Regions from separate parts of the Homo sapiens genome. Here regions 2 and 3 are each linked to region 1. The links are contacts of gene promoters, found by promoter capture Hi-C in blood cells and fetal thymus (Javierre and others, 2016). All regions are on one chromosome and are shown on one strand. The core of a region is centred on a gene start or on the middle of the fragment in contact, and the rest is flanking DNA. Distances in the headings are between cores, read along the strand shown. Region 1 holds the start of KL (klotho). Region 2 has its middle 95 kb from the start of RFC3. Region 3 has its middle 210 kb from the start of LINC02344.

The links. Contacts are between HindIII fragments. The CHiCAGO score rates a contact against its expected background, and 5 or more counts as called.
Region 2: a contact is called between a fragment that was not itself captured here and the fragment with the promoter of KL in region 1, in 2 of 17 cell types (M2 macrophages and M0 macrophages). The highest score is 6.6, in M2 macrophages.
Region 3: a contact is called between a fragment that was not itself captured here and the fragment with the promoter of KL in region 1, in 1 of 17 cell types (megakaryocytes). The highest score is 5.4, in megakaryocytes.

What each region holds. Positions count from the first base shown.
Region 1 is chr13:33,013,592-33,018,538 of GRCh38, forward strand. It overlaps KL (klotho), which reads left to right and starts at 2,832. Exons shown (of 5, transcript NM_004795.4): 1 at 2,832-3,668. The coding sequence starts at 2,850. It overlaps LOC124903151 (translation initiation factor IF-2-like), which reads right to left and starts at 2,862. Exons shown (of 2, transcript XM_047430819.1): 1 at 2,245-2,862; 2 at 1-44. The coding sequence starts at 2,851. RefSeq lists enhancers at 2,436-3,011, 3,012-3,589, 3,798-3,857 and silencers at 2,868-2,937, 3,628-3,727. The HindIII fragment of the contact is 5,190 bases long and covers 770-4,947 here.
Region 2 is chr13:33,720,921-33,725,867 of GRCh38, forward strand. No RefSeq gene overlaps it. Among named protein-coding and RNA genes, the nearest start is that of RFC3, 95 kb to the right of the region's middle. RefSeq lists a silencer at 3,025-3,194. The HindIII fragment of the contact is 499 bases long and covers 2,413-2,911 here.
Region 3 is chr13:33,544,263-33,549,209 of GRCh38, forward strand. It overlaps a transcript of STARD13 not described here. Among named protein-coding and RNA genes, the nearest start is that of LINC02344, 210 kb to the left of the region's middle. The HindIII fragment of the contact is 3,825 bases long and covers 324-4,148 here.

The sequences.
Region 1 (4,947 bases), core at 1,582-4,081:
CAGTGCATCTCCTGCTCCATTGGTGTTAAAAGGCTCCCATCGTCCTGGGAACACAATAGGAAAGAGAACAGGTGGGAAGGCACTGGATGAAGGAATGTGGAGAATGGAGGAAAAGTTGATCAGATTGTTGACAACTTTCAGTGTTGAAATTGTCACCAAAATCAAAGTCAGTAAATAAATTTACAATGTCCTTTTCTTCAATGCATCAATAACTTCACCTTCCTGTTCAAAGCACAGCAAGTAATTAATCTCTTATTTGCATTTGAAACCCAAGTTTCAGATGTTTGAAGGTGGTTGTAAAAAATAAAAACCAAAATAAAGCCAAAATAAATAAGCAGCAGCACTAGGCCGGGCACAGTGTCTCACACCTGTAATCCCAGCATTTTAGGAGACCGAGGTGGGTGGATCACAGGAGATCAGGAGTTTGAGACCAGCCTGGTCAGCATGGTGAAACCCTGTCTCTACTAAAAATACAAAAATTAGCCAGGTGTGGTGGTGTGCCCTTATAATCCCAGCTACTGGGGGGCTGAGACAGGAGAATTGCTTGAACCTGGGAGGCAGAGGTTGCAGTGAGCAGAGACCATGCCACTGCACTCCAGCCTGGGCGACAGAGTGAGACTCCGTCTCACACTTGTGGAACCCAGAACTTAGTAACCATGAACAGAACCTTAATAAACAGAAAGTTCTGGAAATAAAGTTTAATCATCATGCAATCTTTATCACTGGGTTAAATGAACAATCATCTGGGAACATGTCTTGGAATGCTTAAAGCTTTGAGATGCATGTGCCTATGTGGCAGACAAATTTCAAATGTGAAACGTTTAGTTAACTTGGTCTTGCTTTTTAATCACTGCTTTAAAATTTAAAAAATGCTGCTGGTCAAGTAAAAATAGCAATAGATAAAATCTGCCCTGAGCAAACAGACCATACATCAATAAATGAATACTTAGCTTAAGCGATTTTCCATGAGACCCATGAAGCATTTCTAATTGAAACTTAACAAGCTACAACCCAACAGACACTCCAATCTTCACTTCTAGAAGGGAAATGTGATACTCCATGTAGACGTAGCTTTTTAAATTTAGCTGGAAGACAGCGTGACAGTGAAGTTGTGTGCTGTAATTTTTTAAAATTGCTGAAGTGTCATGGTTTGCTATTTCGTATTTATTGAAAAAATGTAAATGCTATATTTAACAGAATGGCAGTAACTCTGTTTCAATCTGAAGACTTAATCTTACTAATCATGGTAATATATGCTGGCTGGAGTTGGGAATATTTCATAAAATACTGGAATAAATTTGTGCTTATATTTCAGGGGAATTAATAAAAGCACCTTCATCTGCAACATTTAAAATGTTATTGCCTTTAAATTTGTATTAAATAATGCAGGGAAGATAGATCACTGGGGGAGAATGGATGCACCTCTGTGAGGATCTTGGTCATTCAACACACGTGTACGGGTGAGGAAACTAAGGCACGACTTACTGGGTAGGGAGGTAGGGATATTAGCAAGATCCTTCACTTGTCTGGGCTTTCTGTCTTTGAGTCACCTTTGCGCAGTTTTTCACTGGACTTCACAAGCCTCTGAGGCGGCAGGGCAGACAGGACATCCTTATTTTATAGAGGAGGAAACTTAGGCTTACAGAGGTTTCCTGCCCCAAATCACAAAGGTGGAGCCTAGACCTTCTCAGTCTCCACCAACTGTATTTCGGTTAGCCACAATCCTATCTACCCACATCCAAATGGACACTGTGGCTCTGCAACTTCTGTCAAAAGGGCTCTTTGGCAACAGGAAAAACGTCATGGCTCCATTGTATTGTAGAGGATGGGAATGGGTGTTCCGGCTAAATTCTCCCTCCCCTTTCCCTCCACAGCTCAGATGGCAAATGTGCGACCCAGGGACCTCCCGCTCCAGCAGACCTGTGCGCACAACTTTGCACAGATTACCTGCTAAGTCAGAGCCGAAAGGTAACACAGATGCCAAAGGATAATAAAGGTGAATGAGATTTACTCAAAATTGGAAACTTGGTGTTTGGTTTTTCAGGAGAACAATCAACGACTGTGATTTGAAGTTCACCAGGGTATTCTGAGAGATCTAATCAAAGATAGAGTGCTGGTTTGAAATTATTAAAAGGTAACAGTAAAAGGGAGAGCAAAACCCCAGTCCCAACGCAACCCATAAATCTACTTTGTCTTCCTCGAAAGAGGGGCGCGGGTGGGCGCGTCTCCCCGCGAGCATCTCACCTAAGGGGGAATCCCTTTCAGCGCACGGCGAAGTTCCCCCTCGGCTGTCCCACCTGGCAGTCCCTCTAGGATTTCGGCCAGTCCCTAATTGGCTCCAGCAATGTCCAGCCGGAGCTTCTTTGGGCCTCCGAGTGGGAGAAAAGTGAGAGCAGGTGCTTCCCCAGCGGCGCGCTCCGCTAGGGCCCGGCAGGATCCCGCCCCCAAGTCGGGGAAAGTTGGTCGGCGCCTTTTCTCCCCGACGAAGCCGCTCCAGGGCTGCTCTCAGAGGACGCGCGGCAGGCAAAGAGAATGAACCTGAGCGTCCACGAAACGTCCTGCACGGCTCCCGGGAGCTGGGAGAAACAGGTGCCTTTCTCCGACGTCCGCGGGCGACGCCTGCCGCACCTTGCCCGCTGCCGCGCCCCTCCCGGGCACCCCTCGCCCTCGGCGCCCCTGCCCCCGCCCCCAGTGCCAGGGCGGAGGCAGTCCCGGCTCGCAGGTAATTATTGCCAGCGGAGCCCGCCGGGGAGCGGGGGTGGGCGCGCCGGCGGTGGGCGGGCGGGCGCGGCGGGGCGCGGGCATAAAGGGGCGCGGCGCGGGGCCCCGGAGCCTGGCTCCCGCGCAGCATGCCCGCCAGCGCCCCGCCGCGCCGCCCGCGGCCGCCGCCGCCGTCGCTGTCGCTGCTGCTGGTGCTGCTGGGCCTGGGCGGCCGCCGCCTGCGTGCGGAGCCGGGCGACGGCGCGCAGACCTGGGCCCGTTTCTCGCGGCCTCCTGCCCCCGAGGCCGCGGGCCTCTTCCAGGGCACCTTCCCCGACGGCTTCCTCTGGGCCGTGGGCAGCGCCGCCTACCAGACCGAGGGCGGCTGGCAGCAGCACGGCAAGGGTGCGTCCATCTGGGATACGTTCACCCACCACCCCCTGGCACCCCCGGGAGACTCCCGGAACGCCAGTCTGCCGTTGGGCGCCCCGTCGCCGCTGCAGCCCGCCACCGGGGACGTAGCCAGCGACAGCTACAACAACGTCTTCCGCGACACGGAGGCGCTGCGCGAGCTCGGGGTCACTCACTACCGCTTCTCCATCTCGTGGGCGCGAGTGCTCCCCAATGGCAGCGCGGGCGTCCCCAACCGCGAGGGGCTGCGCTACTACCGGCGCCTGCTGGAGCGGCTGCGGGAGCTGGGCGTGCAGCCCGTGGTCACCCTGTACCACTGGGACCTGCCCCAGCGCCTGCAGGACGCCTACGGCGGCTGGGCCAACCGCGCCCTGGCCGACCACTTCAGGGATTACGCGGAGCTCTGCTTCCGCCACTTCGGCGGTCAGGTCAAGTACTGGATCACCATCGACAACCCCTACGTGGTGGCCTGGCACGGCTACGCCACCGGGCGCCTGGCCCCCGGCATCCGGGGCAGCCCGCGGCTCGGGTACCTGGTGGCGCACAACCTCCTCCTGGTGAGTGCGAGGGGCCAGGCGGAGGGCCACGCAGGGGAGACAGAGGGCCTCCACAGGGGCCAGGGGGAAGTGTGGGAACTGAGTCTCCCCCAGACGAGGCTTCACTTGGACACGTGTATGTGGTCACCGGGGGAAACTGAGCAGTTCTGACTTCCCTTGGAAGGCGTGGAATTAGGAGAGAAATCCCTTAGTGGGCACACGAGTGAGTGCCCCTTGGAGTCCATCTGTGGAAAGGAAGCGGTGATAGGTTTCCGCAGTGAGGAAAGAAACTCCTTTCTCTGGGTGTAGAGGAATTCCTAGAGGTGAGGGCGGGGAGGATTTGCTAGGAGTAACTGCAGGAAGAGAATGAGCAGGGTGGATGAAAGAAACACGTTTGTTCTTAAGCCGCACAGATAGCATTACTCTCTGGAGCTGTCACGAGTTCAGTGTTAATCCAATAAGATCTGTCTTGCTTGTGGCACAAGTTCACACTGTTGTGAAAGTGTCAAAACACAACTCCCGGAGAGTCAGATTTAAACTGTGTTTGGAGGTCCCTTCTGCGGCAGGGCAGGGAACTGCATCCACCAATCTTATTCACCGGGGTGTGAAGACCGCTTTATACAATCTCAAACAAAGCTAGTCATAGAAACACAGAAACAACTGCAGGGTGATATAGATTGTTCTACCACATCTATATTTCCACAGTGCTCTCTACAGTTGAAAGGGTTCCTCACTTATGACATTGTTAGCCTGATAAAATTAATTGTAACACCCTTGTGCAAAATATTTTATTAATTTTGACAGCAGGAAATATTGCTATGCCATGGTAAAGTTGTCTCAAGTATTTCTTCCTCCTTTTTTCTCCTTAGTGTTCAAATTTAGGCACCATTGTTTTGGGGATTCATTTATAATCATGTCAGTTGTTAGTACACTTTGTACAGAGTTTTGTATCACAATAAAATATTTTATGTACATGTATAAACATTTTAATAAAAGTGTTTAAATGTACAACTTTTGGTACCCAATTCTGATCACTTGTGGGCCTACTGGAAGACTTATTTTTAAATTTAGAATTCAGCCACATATTCTGAACAAAGTCAGTACTAAAACCATTTCTAAACACTTTTAATTAAAGCCATAGATAATATGGGCAGAGCAGTACTGGGTTATTGAGGTGACTTAGTGCTCTGAGCTGCTGGTAATGTTGTAATAATGGCTAAATTAGATTTTATGTCAGTTCCACAAAACCTGTTTGCTGCTACTGGCCATAAAAGAATGTTGGATTTGTTTGGAAACACAT
Region 2 (4,947 bases), core at 1,412-3,911, 710 kb after region 1:
AGTGGCTTAAACAACAAACATATATATTTCTCACAGTTCTGAAGGCTGGGAAGTCCAAGATCAAGGTGCCACTTCTTGGTTCATAGACCAGTATATTCTTGCTCTGTATTTACATGGTGGAATGAGGATGAGGGAGCTCTCCTGGATCCCTTTTATAAGGGTGCCAATCCCACTAGGAGAGCTCCACTCTCACGACCTAATTACTTCCCAAAGGCCCCATCTCCTAACACCATCGCCTTAGGGCTTAGGATTTCCACATATGAATTTGTCGGCGGGGAGGATAAAAACATTTAGTCCATAGCAAAGATTGCTTTATCTTTTGGAATCCTTAATTCCACGCAAGCAACACTTGCATGCAGTTTCCATTTTATAGATGAGGTATCTCAAGTTCAGAGAAGTTCAGTACCTTGACTAAGGACAAAACTAAAACAGAGCCGACTGAAGAATTGCAATCTTTCATTGTAGTCTACAGTTCAATAACAACACTGAATAGGGGTTGTGGGTAAATAAGGAATGAAGTTTTCTGTCTCCAAGGAGAAGGCATCCTGAGTCTTTGGGAGACAGCAGTAGTAATGGCAGTGAAAGCAGATAAACCTTGTTCAAAACAGGTTATCTGCTTATCAAAGCACCAACTACTGAGACATCAACTGATTTCCTCATGCTCAGAGCCTGTACACAAGAGGAACAAAGTTTGGTACCAAAAATTGGTGTGGTTCAAAGAAGTGGGGACTATACAATAAAGAAAAGCTGTATTGTTCTAAGTAAATTTTCTTTTGTATTTCATGAGGTCACAAATAGTTCTAGCATTTTTCCCCCTTGGCTTTCTTTTGGAGAGGACATTACAAATGATAGTGATTCGATGACAGACATTCTTTTTCCCCAAGTGGTTCAGAGCATTCCAAAGGACACAAGGCTATTTTTATTCAGTGGAGCTTGGGACTCTTGGTAGGAAAAGATCTGCAGTGCTGCTGTCCTTCTGATAAAAGGAACAAACATGTTCTTGAACAATCTTGAAAGGATGACACAGCTCATGGAAAATCCAGGAAATGCAGATGTTATTACTGTATGAGAATCACAAGACATGATCTCAGAGATAATTTAGTACAGCATGATTGAGCAGCAGAGGAATATGGAAATTTGTAACTGATAAATGGTGGTAGCTGGGCCAGATTTTGAGAGGTGGTTTGAAAGCTTTAACAGACAGATTACTTAAAGTCATTTAATGGATTTCAGCTCCAACACTGACTTATTTTAATAAACGAAATGCTAATTTGGGCCTCATGCATTCTTTTATATATTCAATTCATGAGGTTGGAAACATTGATCTTTATATTCCTGAGAAACAATTTAATTAGACCTGTAAATGGCTCTTAAAGTACAAATAATGAGAACCAACTATTTGGAAGTGACTTCAAGACTGGCTTGCAAAGAGTGTATAAGTTTCTATTTGATGGTGTAATTACCCATTTGCAAGAGTCACATACACAGGCCAAATCTCCTAATTGATTTACTTAGTAACATGTAACATTGAGGTCACATTACATTAGCAAGGGGAAATGGAAGGCAGAATTATTTACCTTGATACTATAAACGAGAATAAACAAATGATACTTCAATTATCTGATTCTTTCAAATGAGACATTTGAGGTATAAGAATCTGAATTGCATTGTTACTGAATTTCACATTGATACTAGACAGTCTCAGAGTCAGAAAGCCAACGTTTTACATAGAGACTTTAGAGACATTTTTGTCTGTGTAAGTAACTTTTATACAGCTCAATTTGCCAGTATGTGACTTATCTATTTATACATGGGCCAAGTACTTGACTAGTTTTTTAACTTTCCAGTTTTATAAAAATGAAAGTGAAAGAGTCCAAATACTATTTTCATAACTGTCAACTAATTCATAGTTACAGTAACCAGAAAATAGAATAGCGTGTAGGCATTGGACTGAACACAAGGACTTTATTGGATTTTCTTTACTATAATAATATTCCTGGACTTCCCAATTTCATGTGCTTGAAAAATTTAGAAAACATCTTGCTGTAAATCCATACTGCAGATTACTCAAAGGCTTGGGAATATGATTCAAGAGGAAATTCTTTAGATCTGGGATAATTCACTTCTATTTTTCAAGGGCTTTTGTTTTAAGGATACCTGGAAAATCATAAAATCAGATGGGATTTAAGAGTTATTTAATCTAGTGGTACCTATGCACCAGTCATTAGATCTGTGCTGGGCTGCCTGCCTACACATTTTTAGCTAATTTCCATGTCTTCAGACAAGAAAAATGTTTTCCAAGGAAAACAGTTCTTTTGGATTTTTTTTTAAGTGCAATTTCTGGGCCCTGCCCTAGATTTTCTGACTGAGCAAATTTATAGGCAAGGCCCTGGAATCTGTATTTTTTTAAAAAGCTTCCCCGGTGATTTTGAGATCCAGCCATTTGTGGAAACCCACTGATGTTAGTCCAATCTCTTTGTTTTCCAGATGCAAAATCTGAGGCCCACCTTGTCCCAGCTAAGCAAGTGAGGGAGAGGAATCCAGAGCCCTGACTTGTAATTCATTTTTTTTTTGTGTGCTTCTCATTCACTAGGCACATCTGCTGATCAAATCCTTCCCATACCCTCTGGATTCAGAACAAGAGGAAGTGCACATATGTCCACAACAATTTCCCAACACTAGGGAGTATTGATTTGCTGGGGGAGCAAGTGGCATCTCCCTCCCTGGAAAATTTTAAAACCAAAAGAAAAAGTTTAACTGGCTGATAATTTATAAATGAAATCCTCTCTGAAGATAGGAAGATGGGCTAGATAATGTTTTATCTCTTCTAGCCCTAACTTTCCATGCTCCTATAATTTAGTAACAAAAGGAACCCATGCACTTTCTTTTTTTTTAAGACAGTTTCTCCAGAAGCTTCCATGTGTGGAGAAACTTACTCTCTTCCTCCTTCTTCTATTTATCTTTTCTTATCTGAAAGGAGGACTACACTGTAAACATCTACATATGCAAAACCCATGCCTTTGGTACACACCTACCACTTTCAGATCAAACCGACAGCCTAAGTGGCCAGGCTGGCAGCTGGTTTAGGATAAATACAACAGCACCACCTTGTGTTGCGTTTCTGGGAGAATTTACCACTTCAGCAGGACAAAGACTTGGGCCGGGATGGGTGGCTCAGGATACAGCAACTATTCCTTTACTTTCCCTGCTGGGAGCAAATGCTAGCCATTTCGAAAAACCTTTTTGTTTGTTATCAGCCTACAATTTTCTTCTATAAATTCTGTAATTTTTAAAATATAAAAGGTAGCTGAGAAATGGAAATGCAGAAATAAACATATATTAATAAAAGCCTGGGTAAGCACAGTGCTATAGTAAATATTGTAGAGAAAAAGTTAATGTCAGCTTTTATTGCAAAAGACTTGATAGTAAATGTACATTTAATGCTATTGTGATTTAACACTTTCTCTAAAGATTCTCCCATATTTGGGGAGGTAGCTTTTAAACTATGTATTTGCCTATTAAGGGAAGAAAAGAATGTTTCACTTTCTCATAACCATTCTGGGTGAGCCTGGATAAAGTCTTTGTTTTCCCCAAGTATAGTTGTAGATTCACATATATAAATATATATAGATATATATGAATATATATATAATATTCATATTATACCTTGTATTCCCCAAGCATGGTTGTAGATTCATATACTATATGTGTACATATATAATATACATATGCACATATATATTTGCATCTTTGCTGTGGAGCAAGCTAAAAATTTAATATGTGAATATCAACATGGGACTGAAAGACCATAAAGACCAGAAAATCGACATATTTGCTAAACAAATATGTCAAATGTCTGATATTTTCAACAGAAAGAACATGACTAATTAAGGAAGATTATTTCCAGTTGTAATTTGAAATGTCAAGATTAGTGTAACAAATCAGCAATTCTTTGTCTCTGAAATCATCTGGAAAATTGAGCTAAGGCCTTACAAGCTACACATTATTATGGGAAGAGAAGTTACAGGATTAGAAAGTAGCAAACCAGGCATTCGGGGCCTTGCTGGGGCTGGCCATGCAGAAAAACTTACCCAGAAAATCCTGCAGAAAGCTCAGTAATGTTACTTTTAGTTGTAAAAGAGGATTTGGTCTTCAAAGTTTATTTGCCATTGTTCACCCAGTCTTTAGCACGTATATTTACTGTGCTGAGCTAATAACTTTGAATTAGACTTTACAAATAAGAAGGAAAAATTATGTCTTAGTTCCTCATGTGCTTTCTTGTGGAAGGCCAGACAAGTAGCACATTTGATTAGGCAATATTTCTAAGTTTTGGATAATTTTTCTGATATTGTATTCTCCAATTAAATTGTAATCTAATTTATAAAAATACTAAATATATAGTTATGAAGGGTGCACTACAATTTTAAAGAATGTGGAATGTTCAGGTGTGAATCATGAACTTGGAGGGCTTCTAGTAAATACCAGTTGGCAAATACAATGTCATATCAATATGAAGAAAATGCTCTTCTTTTCTTCAAACAAACGCAATCTCAAAAACTCCCAAGGGCTATTCCATTTGTGTACTTATCAGTCACTTGACTGCTTTCCTAATCACTGTTTTCTAGTCCCAGTTCTGTGCACAAAGGAAAGTTCCACCCCGTTCCCCAACCCTGCACTCAGGATCACTCCCCATCAAATGGTGCCTACCTGGAGCAGAATGTTGATTTCACACTTGCTCCAAATGTTCTTCTTCCTTCCATTAGACTTTCACTTAAAATTTATTTTTTGGTAGAATTTGAGTTCCAGGGAGAGTATGGACTTAATTTCTAGTGGCTCTTAATTCTGTACTGCCACCCAGATGGCTTCCAGCTACATGGCTTTTTTGTCACAGGACAAAGCAATGACTGTGGATAATGAAAAAATAATAATTTTCTAGAATGGTGGAAT
Region 3 (4,947 bases), core at 986-3,485, 530 kb after region 1:
ATCCCTACCGTGCCATTTATAAATGTACACAGTGCTTACATTATAAAAAATGATCATCTCAGAACTTGTCTCATCTTTTCAGCAGGACTTTTCTCAATTCTGTCAAATTCTGACTGTGCCACTGCCTTTATTGACACAGTAATTAAATCACGCAGTGATTAAAGTGTGCTGCACACTGTAACTTTTGTGCTTGCTACAAATAGAAATACAGATATTGTTAGATAAGTTTATGTTTATGATAATCAGTTCCTAAAATGTAGAAAGCAGTCGGTTTTCTGGTCTCAGTTTTATTTAAATCACTGCTATTTTGTTTACTGGATGTAAGCTTCCCCCTCTCTGCTCTAGCCTGAATGGGCCTTCGTGAAAAGAAGAAAAAAAAGATTGAGAACAACTGTCTTAAAACCATGGTATTTCCCTAATAGGCTAGTACCATGTATTTGGATAATTACTGATGAATCATTTAAATCAGGGAAAGGTGCATGGTTTTGTTTTTTTGTTGTTTTTTCTCTTTTTTTTTTTTTTTTTTTTTGAGATGGAGGCTTGCTCTGTCGCCCAGGCTGGAGTGCAGTGGCCAGATTTCAGCTCACTGCAATCTCTGCCTCCCGGGTTCAAGCGATTCTCCTGCCTCAACCTCCTGAGTAGCTGGGACTACAGGCGTGTGCCACCACACCTGGCTAATTTTTTTGTTTTATTTATTTATTTATTTATTTGAGACGGGGTTTTGCTCTTGTTGCCCAGGCTGGGGTGCAATGGTGCGATCTCAGCTCATCACAACCTCTGCTCCCAGGTTCAAGTGAGTCTTCTGCCTCAGCCTTCCTGAGTAGCTGGGATTACAGGCATGTGCCACCATGCCTGGCTAAAATTTTGTATTTTCCTTAGTAGAGATCAGTTTTCTCCATGTTGGTCAGGCTGGTCTCGAATTCCTGACCTCAGGTGATCCACCCGCCTTGGCCTCTCAAAGTGCTGGGATTACAGGTGTGAGCCACCGCGCCTGGCCTAATTTTTTGTATTTTTAGTAGAGACGGGGTTTCACCGTGTTAGCCAGGATGATCTCGATCTCCTGACCTCGTGATCCGCCTGCCTCGGCTTCCCAAAGTGCTGGGATTACAGGCGTGAGCCACTGTGCCTGGCCCGAAAGGTGAATGTTCTTTGCCTTATTTTAAACTTTATTGTAATAAATTCACTAATGAAGCAGGCAGAGAAGATGTAAAGGACACTTCATTAGTAATGCTATATTTCATATACCTGCTGTATTTTGGGAGCATTATTGCTATCATTTGGTTTGTTGGATCCCTCCAAATCTCACGTTGAAATTTGATCCCCAGTGTTGGAGGTGGGGCTTAATGGGAGATGTTTTCAGACATGGGGGTGGATCCCTGACACAGGGCTTGATGCCCTCCTAGTGATAATGAGTGAGTTTTCTATTAGTTGCTGTCAGAGCTGGTTGTTAAGAGCCTGGCACCTCCCTCCTATCGATTTTCTTGCTGCTTTGTCTTGCTTCCTCGCTTACCATGTGATCTCTGCACATGCTGGTTCTCCTTCACCTTCACCCACAAGTGGAAACAGCCTGAGGCCCTCACCAGAAATAGCTGCTGGTACCATGCTTCTTGTACAGCCTACAGAACTGTGAGCCAAGTAAACCTCTTTTCTTCATAAATTACCCAGCCTCAGGTATTCCTTTATAGAAAAATAAATGGACTAAGACAGTTGTTAAATAACCTTATTTTGTTGACTAAAAGTAATTAGTATTTTATGACATTTATTTATTATGGCTGTTAACATTACAATTTATCCTGGCTAATTTCATCAGTAAACACTCTTATGAAATGATACTGTAGTTTACTTTCAACCAAGAATTGGTTGACTTTGATACAGTAATTAGATTAGGATTCCCACGTCAGATTTTCTTTCAAAAATAATTCCTATTATTATGTGGAAGCCTCCTTTTCTGATTTTTTTCTCTTATTTTCTAAGAACATAATATGTAAATGGATGTATAATGAATATTTGTGGCAAAAAGCATTTGTCTAAGAAGAATTAAGTTGATTCAGCTGTTAAAGGGGTCTTAGTTGTTAGAGCTTTTTGGCGGTTTATTTGCTATAATCAATAGACTTATTAATACTTTTAATTTTAGCCTAATAGTACTAATAGTCACATTTTGACTAACTATTGGGCCAGTTTTTCTTTGTCATTCATTGGTAGTTGAGTCTCTGTAGCCTTTATACTGCCCTATTTTTGGTTTGCCACATTTTAAATCTCAAACTGCCTATAATTTATACTGTTAGTCTTTGGAAATAAGTTTGAATTGACTATTCTGCTAAACTCATTTTAATGACCATGCTCCCTTGTGATGAGCTAAATTTATTTATTATTGTGTTGTCGTATTAATTTTTTTTTTTTTGAGACAGTCTCACTCTGTCGCCCAGGCTGCAGTGCGGTGGCTCAGTCTCCACTTACTGCAACCTCCACCTCCCGGGCTCAAGTGATTCTCCTGCCTCAGCTTCCTGAGTAGCTGGGATTACAGGCAAGATTAATGTTTTTTATTTGTAATCAATTTAAGCCTAATACATGTTCTAATAATTTTTGTATTTCATATATGGATAAATTATAATAATTCTTTTAAAGTGAAAGTATTGATGAGAGATACTTTTTTTTGGAATAGCTCATTTTAAGCCCCTGATACTTGATATGGATAAAATATTTTCAGTGTTTAATAAAATGTTGAAATATATTTAACTTTACTAATTTGAGCCCTGCCAATTATAATACTTTAGAAAAAGTGAAAATATAATAGTACATTTATAAGGCTTTTAAGTATTCACAAAATAGTCATTTCCCAGTAGATGTTTTTCAGCTCTTATGATACAGTGTTTTCTTTTTCTTTTGGCCATGTATTGATCAGAATTAGTCATTAACTTTACTAACAACTGGATTTAGTTTGTCAGCCTTGATGGTTTGGTTACACAGATGTAGCTATTGTGTCAACCCCACTGTTTTAAATATGTTCCTATGCCAGGTGAAATTTGATCCCTTTAAGCAAATTTCTGTTAAACACTTTGTGTCAGTTTCAGTAACGTTTCCCCAATGAACATTCCTACTGTACAAAATTTTACATATGTGTATTTACATATTTATACTTTTTTCACAAATGTGGGAATTTAGGATACTATGTTTGTAAAAATTGGGCAATTTTTCTTGAAGATAATTTTTAAAATTACAGCAAAACATAGGGCCCTGAGAAGAAGAGGTAAAATATATGGAAGAGCAAGTATGTATAGATAATTTTGTAACGTAACCTTGAGAGAAATATAGAAAACTGAGACAACATAAGCCAAAGGAAAGGAATTGGGATGTAAAACCTTTAGGGTAGAGCAGTGCTCTGCTGTGGTCATTTATGCCTTGGCATTAAGTTCTTTTGAATATAAAACAATGCATTTAGAAGGATTTTAAGACTATATCACAGTGCACTGGCATTTTCTTCTTCAATTTTCCAGGGCTAAATAAGGTAATTGAATAATAAAACTTAAAAGCATTTTTCATTTCATGAAGATCCAAGAAAAAATATTTCATAACAATTTTTATTTACAAGAAGGAAAAACATATTCATAAGAATCTTAGATGATTAGTAGGTTAATGAAATAAAAAGTTTGTTAGGAAGAAGGAATACTAGTTATTGAACAATGCCAATTTTTTCTATTTAAAAATATTTAAAATGCCATTAGTTGATTTATTTAATGAGCCATCAGCCTTTATTTTAGATTCACTATAACTCTGATCTCCTAAACCTGCTTTTCCTATCAGGTCTTAAATATTTCATCCCTGCTTTCTTTTACAATATAGTTTTTGGGAATGTAACTATCATGTTGATAAGTAATGCTAGGTGAAGGAAAAAGTTAAAACAACTCCAATGCTAGGCAGTGATATACCATAGAAAAATAAATGAGCCAAAGATAGGGGAAGTGATTTTTTTTGGAGGAAGAAAACAGAAATGAGAACAAGAGGACATGGATGACTGCTGAAAAACTGACCAAGTTCCTCTTCAGTCTTCTAACAGAATTTGGAAGATGTTCTTAGCATGCAACTGTTGGTTGAAAAAAACCCAAATGTACAAGGGCCATCAGTTCTTAAAAGTGGAATAGTGCATAGAAAGCTTATTGACACAACATAGCAGTTTGATGAAATGGACTGAAGCCATTTCTGTGGAGTGGACTCGTGGAAAATGTGATGCCTGATTCATAAAATTGTACACAGTTGAATGTTGCTATATAGGTAAGGTTTTGCAAACTCAGGACTCTCAGGAAACATCAAAGGTATATAGTTGGCACACTTAATTTTAGATATGTGTGATACGTTTGTGATTTTTTTTAAAAAAATATTTCCAGGAATGCTTAAGAAGATTATACCACCTCATGCTATAAAATAAAACTAACTTGGAGAATTCAACAATGTTTGCTGTTTTAATATGCATCTTACAAAGATAATTATAAACACTGAGAGTATTTACTGCAATGCCCTGAATATAGTATGCCTAAAGAATTTTCTGTATAAAAATAATTGTATTTATTTTAGTTAAAAATTGAGTAAAATATACATGCATCAAAATAATTTCTAGGTAGACCAAAGTGATATATGTAAAGAAAGACAAAATCAAAAATCAGGAAATTGCTGGTGAATATCTAATCTCGGGATAGAAAAATATTTTTTTAAATCACAAAAGCAATCAGTAATCAAAAGAAAAGATGACTGATAATTATTACCATATAAATATTTTTAAACTCATGTGTTAACAATTTATAGAACAAATAAGTTCGAGAAAATGTTTGTCCTTAGCATGTCAGTTAATTAAAATAAAACACAGAAACTTCATACAGTTCAGCAAAGGACATCTTGATTTGTGCTTTGGAGAATCTATTGAGTTTTTTTGGTTACTGAGTAATAGTTTAGTTA